Linked DNA regions of Homo sapiens: region 1 is linked to region 2. The links are contacts of gene promoters, found by promoter capture Hi-C in blood cells and fetal thymus (Javierre and others, 2016). All regions are on one chromosome and are shown on one strand. Each heading gives the region's core, a stretch centred on a gene start or on the middle of the fragment in contact. The rest is flanking DNA. Distances are from core to core; before and after follow the strand shown. Region 1 overlaps GTF2IRD1 (GTF2I repeat domain containing 1). Region 2 holds the start of GTF2IRD1 (GTF2I repeat domain containing 1).

Region 1 (4,278 bases), core at 1,184-3,683, 110 kb before region 2:
AGTCCTCCCCACAGCCCCTCCAAAACCGGCAGGGCTCTCTTGTCCCTTTCTCCTCTCCTGCAGCAAGCCCTATAGGAAGCGGCCTCTCTAGTGAGTGGCAGCTCAACCTCTGCTTAAATGCCTCCAGTGACGGGGAGTTCACTACCTTCCAAAGCTTTTAAAAAACGTTAACCACTGCTATTCAAGAACAATTCTAGAATTTTTTTTTGAAAGACAAGGTCTCATTCTGTCTCGCAGGCTAGAGTGCAGTGGTGTGATCACAGCTTACTGCAGCTTTGACTTCCTGGGCTCAAGCGATCCTCCCTCCTCAGCCTCCCGAGTACCTGAGACTACAGATGTGTGCCACAACACTGGCTCAATGTTTTCATTTTTTGTAGAGACAGGGTCTCACTATGTTGCCCAGGCTGGTCTCCTGGCTTCAAGCAATCCTCCTGCCTTGGCCTCCCGAAGTGCTGGGATTACAGGCAATGAGCCACTGTGTCTGGCTTTTTTTTTTTTTTTGAGACAGAGTCTTGCTCTGTCACCCAGGCTGGAGTGCAGTGGTGTGATCTCAGCTCATTGCAACCTCTGCGTCTCAGGTTCAAGCGATTCTCCTGCCTCAAGCTCCCGAGTAGCTGGGATTACAGGCGTCCGCCACCATGCCTGGCTAATTTTTGTATTTTTTGGTGGAGACAGGGTCTCACCATGTTGGCCAGGCTGGTTTCGAACTCCCGACCTCAGGTGATCTACCCGCCTCAGCCTCCCAAAGTCCTGGGATTACAGGCTGAGCCACCGCGCCCGGCCCTGCTGTTGCTTCTGAGGTTTGAAAACCGCTGCCTCAATGCTCCTGACTCAGCTCTTCTTACCCAAAGGTTCCCCCACCTCGTCTACTCTGTTCCTGCACAGTCGCCCTTTCCTCCGATGCCCCGGGCAGGTCTCTCTCTGCCAGCTCCACGCTTCTGAGAGGCCCCCAGCCTGCCTGCCACCCTGCCTGCACTAAATACCACTCAGGTTTCACTATGGGCCCCTGGATGTGTCTCACAAGCCCACAGACCCAGCCTTAGAGACGAGCACCACCATCACCCTTCCGGAACCTTCCGCCCTCTTCACACCCTGCTGCTGCCTCTAGATCCTAACCCCATCCATCGTGGGGCCCAGCTGCCCACTGCCTGGGTTCAGACCTTCTCAACACTCCCTGGCTTCTCTGCCCTAGTTTTGCCTTCTCTAATCCACCCTTGGTGGGTGGAAATATGGTTACCATGGTAACCTGAAGACAGCGCAAATCTGATCGTATCATTACAATGACTGGAAAAACCGCCAGTGCCACAAAATAAAGCTCAAGTTACTAGCTTTGCAGGCTAGGCCCTTTACCATTCCGGCAGCATTTTTGGGGGCTATTCTCCATCCCCCCCTCACTGCACAACCCCACCTGGCCACCCCAGGCTCAGGCCGCAGAACAGCATAGACCAGGGAGTGGCTTTGGCCTCATGCTAACTACCTGATTTTTGTCTGTTTCAGGCTGTTTGCTCAGTTACAAAATGGGAAGGAAGGACAACAGCACCCACCTCACAGGCTAAGCGTCTAAGAGGCTGTGTGTGAAAAGCCCACAGCACAGGGTCTGGCACGCGTGGACGTGCGGGATGGGAGGAGGGGATTTCCCAGCTCCTAATCTCTGCAGGGACTGGCCCCTGGCCTAGGGAACACCAGCTCCTCAGGGAGGGGGAGCTTTCCCTGACCCCCCGATGTGTGGCAGGCAGAGGAGAGTGAGCTACTTCTGGGAGGGGAGTTGGGGGAAAGGGCAAGTTAGTCTTTACTGAGGGTGGCAGTGAGCTGGCATTTTGGTCTCACCTCGGCTGCAGAAACCCACCCTGCTCCCGTCTTATTTCCTGGGGATTTCAGCTGTGTGCAGGCACAGATGCGTCATCCAAGTGCCCCACACGTACCTTGACCTCTTCTCCTCCCTCTGGCCAGTCCTGAACCTCTTGGTGATCCATGGCGGCACCTCTGTGTCCCACATCCTTCTCTGGCCATCTCCTTCCCTCCTTCCAGCCCTCCCTCTAGAAACCTGACCCCAACTGTCCTTCATCCCCATGGGGACATTTAGTCCACTGACTCATCACCCTCCCCTGTCCCTCCCTGAGAGAAGGAGCAGGCAGAGAGGAGCTTGCATGAGCATTCAGCAACCCTCTTCCACCCATCCTGTTTCTTTCTTTTTCTTCTTCTTCTTCTTCTTTTTTGAGACAGAGTCTCGCTCTGTCGCACAGGCTGGAGTGCAGTGGCACAATCTCGGCTCACTGCAAGTTCCGCCTCCCGGGTTCACGCCATTCTCCTGACTCAGCCTCCCAAGTAGCTGGGACTACAGGTGCCCGCCATCACGCCCAGCTAATTTTTTGTATTTTTAGTAGAGACGGGGTTTCACTGTGTTAGCCAGGATGGTCTTGATCTCCTGACCTTGTGATCTGCCCGCCTGGGCCTCCCAAAGTGCTGGGATTATAGGCGTGAGCCACCACGCCCGGCCCTTTCTCCTTCTTTTTTTTTTTTTTTTTTAAATAGAGATGCAGTCTTGTTATGTGGCTGGTCTCAAACTCCTGGGCTCAAGTGATCCTACTGCCTCGGCCTCCCAAAGTGCTGGATTACAGGCGTGAGCCACCACACCCAGCTCCGTTCCCTTTCTAAGCAGGGTGCTCCTTTTCTTGCCATTCCCCCCATCCTCCTTCCTCTCCCACAGCTCACTTCCCTCTCTACTGAATCTGCTGAAGATCATGCAGCTGCTGTTCCTACCTCTAAAACCCTCTCTTGGCTGGGTGTGGTGGGTCATATATGTAATCCCAGCACTTTGGGAGGCTGAGGCAGGTGGATCATTTGAGGTCAGGAGTTTGACACCGGCTTGGCCAACATGGTGAAACCCCATCTCTACTAAAAAATACAAAAAATAGTCGGGCGCGATAGCACGCGCCTGTAATCCCAGCTACTCGGGAGGCTGAGGCAGGAGAATCACTTGAACCCGGGAGGCGGGGGTTGCAGTGAGCCGAGATCACGCCACTGCACTCCAGCCTGGGCAATAGAGCGAGACTCTGTCCCCTCCCTCCACCAAAAAAAAGAAAGCCCTCTCTGCAGCCATTCCACTCTCAACTCTTGTTCATTCTCTCCTGCCCTCTAAAAGGTGATCCTTTTAGACCTGACCCCCCCGATGTGTGGCAGGCAGAGGAGAGCAAGCTACTTCTGGGAGGGGAGTTGGGGGAAAGGGCAAGTTAGTCTTTACTGAGGGTGGCAGTGAGCTGGCACTTTGGTGCTTGGTCCTTGGCAGATTCAATCACTTGCCTTTCTCATTGTCTCTTGAGCCCACTATTCCACTCTGGTCCCCACCACTTCCCCCAAAATTGCTCTGAACCATCCCACTGCAACCTGTTGCTTAGCACCTCCGTCTACTCTCAGGCATTAGGACTGACCTCCCAGCAGAGGCTGGTGCAACCAATCACCCCCTTCAGTAAGTTTCTCCCTGGGCTTCACCTGCGGACTTTCCACCTCTCTCTCCTTTTTTTTTTCTTTTTTATTTTTGAGACAGGGTCTCGCTGTGTCGCCGGGTTGGAGTGCTGTGGTGCAATCTCAGTTCACTGCAACCTCTGCCTCCCGGGTTCAAGCGATTCTCCTGCCTCAGGCTCCCAAGTAGCTGGGATTACAGGCATGCGCCACCATGCCCAGCGAATTTTTGTATTTTTAGTAGAGACGGGGTTTCACCATGCTGGCCAGGATGGTCTTGATCTCCTGACCTTGTGATCCGCCTGCCTCAGCCTCCCAAAGTGCTAGGATTACAGGCGTGAGCCACTGCGCCTGGCCCTCCATACATTTTTGTTGTACAAATAAATGAACTCAAAGGATTAACTACAAGCCTAAAGGTTTACACAGGCAGGACCAGTGTAATAGCTGCTGGTAGCCAGGAGGGGACAGCAAAGAGCCACCCTGTGTGGATGAGACCAGAGGGGTGGTGGGAAAGAGGGCGTGGCTGCAACCCACTTCAGGGACACACAACAAGCCCTAGGCTAGTGGTAGAGCCTGCCCTGGGTTCCGAAGTATAATAAAATGGTAAAGACTTAGGTTCAAATCTCTACCACACTACTGTGTGACCTTGAGAAAGCTGCTTAATCTCTCTGAGCCTCAGTCCCCTCCAATAAGGCCAGCTACTTGGGGAGATGACGTGGTAACGTGAGTGGGCTTTGTAACCGGCAAATCGTAAGTATGACGTGGTCAGGCATGGTGGCTCACACCTGTAATCCCAGCAGTTTGGGAAGCCGAGGCGGG
Region 2 (3,991 bases), core at 1-2,500:
GGATGGGGACACAGGAGACTCCCACCGCAGGACCTTGGTCCTGGGAGGTAGGGTCACTAGGCCAGACGCCAGAGCTCCAGCCCCCTCCAGCACTGCCAGGAGGGTGGAACGAACTCTCAGCGGCACAGCGGCCCCCTTCCCTGGGCCCACGCCAGGCGAGGCAGGGTCTCACTCCCTGGCTGCTGGCCAGGGGTGAGGAGCCCAGGAGAGGTGTCAAGCCCATCATGCCCAGGGTACTTAGGATGGGGCGGGTGGGTGTTCAGCACCCTGTGGCCCCTCCTCTGTCCTCTCCACCCATCTGCAGGAACTCAGAGACCACCCACAGACCGAGTATCCCCAACTTACTCCTCTGAACCCTTTGTGGTCCCCCCACTGCCACCTTCTGAGTCCCCTCCACCCGGGATTCAGCGGCCACCACCACACAGGCCAGCCCCCTCCCCGGGGCCGGGGCGGGGGGTCCACTACAGGAACCACCCTGCTGGGGCAATCCTGGCTGGACTGGACTCCGCCTGGGAGTTGGGGGCGCGGGCCAGGGGCTGGCCCAGACCGGGAGAAGGTGGAGGGGGGAAAGGCGGGGACCGCGGCCTTCCCAGCCCCCTCTGCTCCCACCCCGGCGCCCGCCACCGCGGGCAGCGCGACTGACCTCATTCGCCAACTGCAGCAGCCTGCGGGCGCCGGCCCGGGACGCCCCCCACCTCCAGAAGAGCCGGTGGCAAGGAGGGAGGGGGTGACAGCTCCCAGCTCCCGGCCCCTCCCGGGCAGGTGGGGGGCGGCCGTCCCTCCCCTCCCCCCGGGCCCGAATTATAATCCCAGTCACGTGCCTCCCCGGGCACCCAAAAGCCGGCCCCAGCTCCTGTAACACCTTGAGAGGGGGAGGGGCGGGGACCCCCCCCCCCGGAGGCGGAGGGGATCGGGGGCGGGGGTGGGGGAGAAGGGGAGAAGGGCCTCGGTGCCCGCCCCCCGCAAAAGTTTCTCCTACCTTGGAGGATCCCCAAGCGCTCCTGCCAGCGGCGCCCCGGCCCCGGCCCGCGGCCAGGACTCAGCCTCCTGCCGCTGCCTCCTTAATTAATCCGGGAGAATGGGGGAAGGAGAGGCAGAGGGAGGCGAGGACGGCGGCGCGGCGAGGGCGGGGAGGGAGGCGCGGGGAGGGGGCGCGGGGGGGGAATCGGCCGGCCGGGGGGCTGGCGCTCGGCGGCCCCCACCCCCGGCGCGGGCTGCGGCGGAGGGCGGGGCGGCGCGGGGAGAGGAGCGGAGAGCGGGAGCGCGGGGAGGCTCTTTGTTCTGTAATCCCAGTAAGATTGCCAGCCATTCGCCCCGGCCCTAATCCCAGCCCCGCGCAACACCACCCTCCATTGGCTGCCATTTACATACGGGATTAGCCCGCCCCGCGCCCCGCGCCCCTGCGCACCCCCCTTGCTACCCAGCGCCCCTGCGTCCCGGGGACCTGGGCACCGCGGTGGGGAGAGCGCGCCGCACCCCTCGGCCCCGGACCTGCGGGGAGGGGCGGTGGCGCCCTCGGTTCTCCCCCACCAGCGCCGGATTAGAAAAGCCTGGGCGCGCCCCCGTCTACCCCCACCGCTCCCCACCACCACTGGGAGAGCAGCCGGGCGCAGGGGGCTGAAGTTGGAGGGTCAAGGTCACCCAGCTGGAACGCGCGGAGGCCCTGAGTGTCCCGGCTGGTCACTCCCGCCTGGCCCGGGTTCTAGTCCTAAGGCTTGGGCCAGGTACCTCTTACTCTTACAGCCTTTGTCCCCCTCCCACCCCTGAGATGTGCAGGAAGGCAGTGACAGGCCGAAAGTCGCAGCAGAGCCAACTGGACTCTTGGTCCCATCTTGTCTGATGGGACCTCCCTCTGATAGGCTTTTACCCCTGTCCCCCCAACCAGCCCCCCCGCCCCCCGCCCGCCCCGCTCCCACCAACCACACACACACCACAGCAGCGCTCCTACTGAATCAGTGCGCACGCCTCCCATCCGGCCCCAAAGCCATAAATCCTAATTCAGCACAAGGAACACAGTCCTTCCCCCACGTGGTGCCCTGATCCCTGAACTAGACCTTGGCTAGACTGGGCATGGCAGGGAGGGAGGGACTCACCCCAGGCAGGCCCCAACCCCAGGGAGCTTCTGGCTTAGAAGGACAGCCAAACATAGATCGAGAATCTCCCAGGTCCTGGCAAAACCCACAAGGTCTCCCCACAGCCTCCTGGCCAAACTGCCTTTGCAAAGATTAGGACAGTGACAGAAGTTTAGCGTGGCTGACTCCATCTTGCTTCCAGCCTCACGCGCTGGCTGTCTTCACTCATTCCGGGGCATAGGCCAAGCTAACCGGGGGAGGAATTTAGTTTATAGTTCAACTTTGAAACAAGGATGATAATAGTTACTCCTTAAACCTAACCTGCTTTTTATACAAGAGACCAAAACCACCTTTGTAAAACTAACGAAAGGCCGTGAGATTAGGATTATGGGAGGGGCCTGGACGCTGCTAAAACCTACGCATCGTTTTTATAATCTGACTGCTCAGGAGTCATGTGGCGAGAGATCACAAGATTTGTGAGTTCCCCACTTCCTCCTATAGATAGCATCTCTATTGTGGAAACTGAGATTGGTCTTTGGAGATGTTTTTCAGACTTTCGCATTCGGGCAACCGACTGACTCACCTGGACCTGTGTGACTCATGACTCAGCCCATCCTGTGGCCCCCACTCAGAGACCGACTCAGTGCATAAGGACCGTTTGCCACACCCCTGTGATTTCATCTCCAACCAATCAGCAGTACCCATTCCCTGGGCCCTTGCCCACCAAATTATCCATAAAAACCCTAGCCTCTGAGTTCTTGGGGAGATTTATTTGAGTAATAACTCCAGTCCTACTGCTTGGCTAGCTCTGCATTAATAAGACGCTTTTGGCTGGGCTCAGTGGCTCATGCCTGTAATCCCAGCACTTTGGGAGGCGAAGGTGGGTGGATTGCTTGAGGTCAGGAGTTCAAGACCAGCATGGCCAACACAGCGAAACCTGGTCACTAAAAATACAAAAATTAGCCGGGTGTGGTGGTGCATGCCTGTAATCCCAGCTACTCAGAAGGCTGACGCATGAGAATCACTGGAACCCAGGAGGTGGAGGCTGCAGTGAGCCAAGATTCAGCCACTGCACTCCAGCCTGGGTGACAGAGTGAGACTGTGTTTCAAAAATTAGGCCAGGCACGGTGGCTCATGCCTGTAATCCTAACACTTTGGGAGGCCGAGGCAGGTGGATCACTTGAGGTCAGGCATTCAAGATCAGCCTGGCCAACATGGTGAAACCCTGTCTCTACTAAAAACACAAAAATTAGCCGGGCGTGGTGGCAGGCACCTGTGATCCCAGCTGCTTAGGAGGCTGAGGCATAAGAATCGCTTGAACCTGGGAGGCGGAGGTTGCAGTGAGCCAAGATCGCACCACTGCACTCCAGCCTGGGCGACAGAGTAAGACTGTCTAAAAAATTTTAAAAATTAAGAAACATAAAACTATTTCTCGCTGTAATACCATGGTCTCAGTGAATTCTTCCTGTGCAGCGGCAGGAACACCCGTCAGACAATTACACTGGGGTCTCTTCTGGACACACACCAGGAACTTGGTGAGGGTTAACTTTGGCTGACCAGGTCTCCTATAGGAAACCCACAAACCCATCAGACTGAGAGCTCCTCCCAGGCAGGCCACATCTGCAGTGCCCAGCACAAGGCAGGGCGCAGAGGGGCCCTCATGCCCACAGAGGATGTTGGGCCATGTCAGGGTTGGGAATGAAGTCACCAATGCTCCCTCCATCCTTCACCACCCTCCTGTTGTAAGGAGGTCTGGGACATCTCAAGGCACCCTCCTGTGTGGCCCTCTGAGACCCAGGTCGTCTCCCACCCTGCCTCTTTCTCTTTTTCTTTTCTTTTTTTTTTTTTGAGACGGAGCCTTGCCCTGTCACCCAAGCTGGAGTGCAATGGCATGATCTCGGCTCACTGCAACCTCCGCC

The links. Contacts are between HindIII fragments. The CHiCAGO score rates a contact against its expected background, and 5 or more counts as called.
Region 1: a contact is called between a fragment that was not itself captured here and the fragment with the promoter of GTF2IRD1 in region 2, in 14 of 17 cell types (megakaryocytes, fetal thymus, activated CD4 T cells and 11 more). The highest score is 16.2, in megakaryocytes.

The regions. Positions count from the first base shown.
Region 1 is chr7:74,566,586-74,570,863 of GRCh38, reverse strand. All of the region lies in intron 22 of GTF2IRD1 (GTF2I repeat domain containing 1), which reads right to left. Among named protein-coding and RNA genes, the nearest start is that of MIR10525, 27 kb to the left of the region's middle. The HindIII fragment of the contact is 4,554 bases long and covers 157-4,278 here.
Region 2 is chr7:74,451,165-74,455,155 of GRCh38, reverse strand. It overlaps GTF2IRD1 (GTF2I repeat domain containing 1), which reads right to left and starts at 1,250. Exons shown (of 27, transcript NM_005685.4): 1 at 980-1,250. RefSeq lists silencers at 628-697, 1,200-1,549 and an enhancer at 2,435-2,954. The HindIII fragment of the contact is 10,217 bases long and covers 1-3,991 here.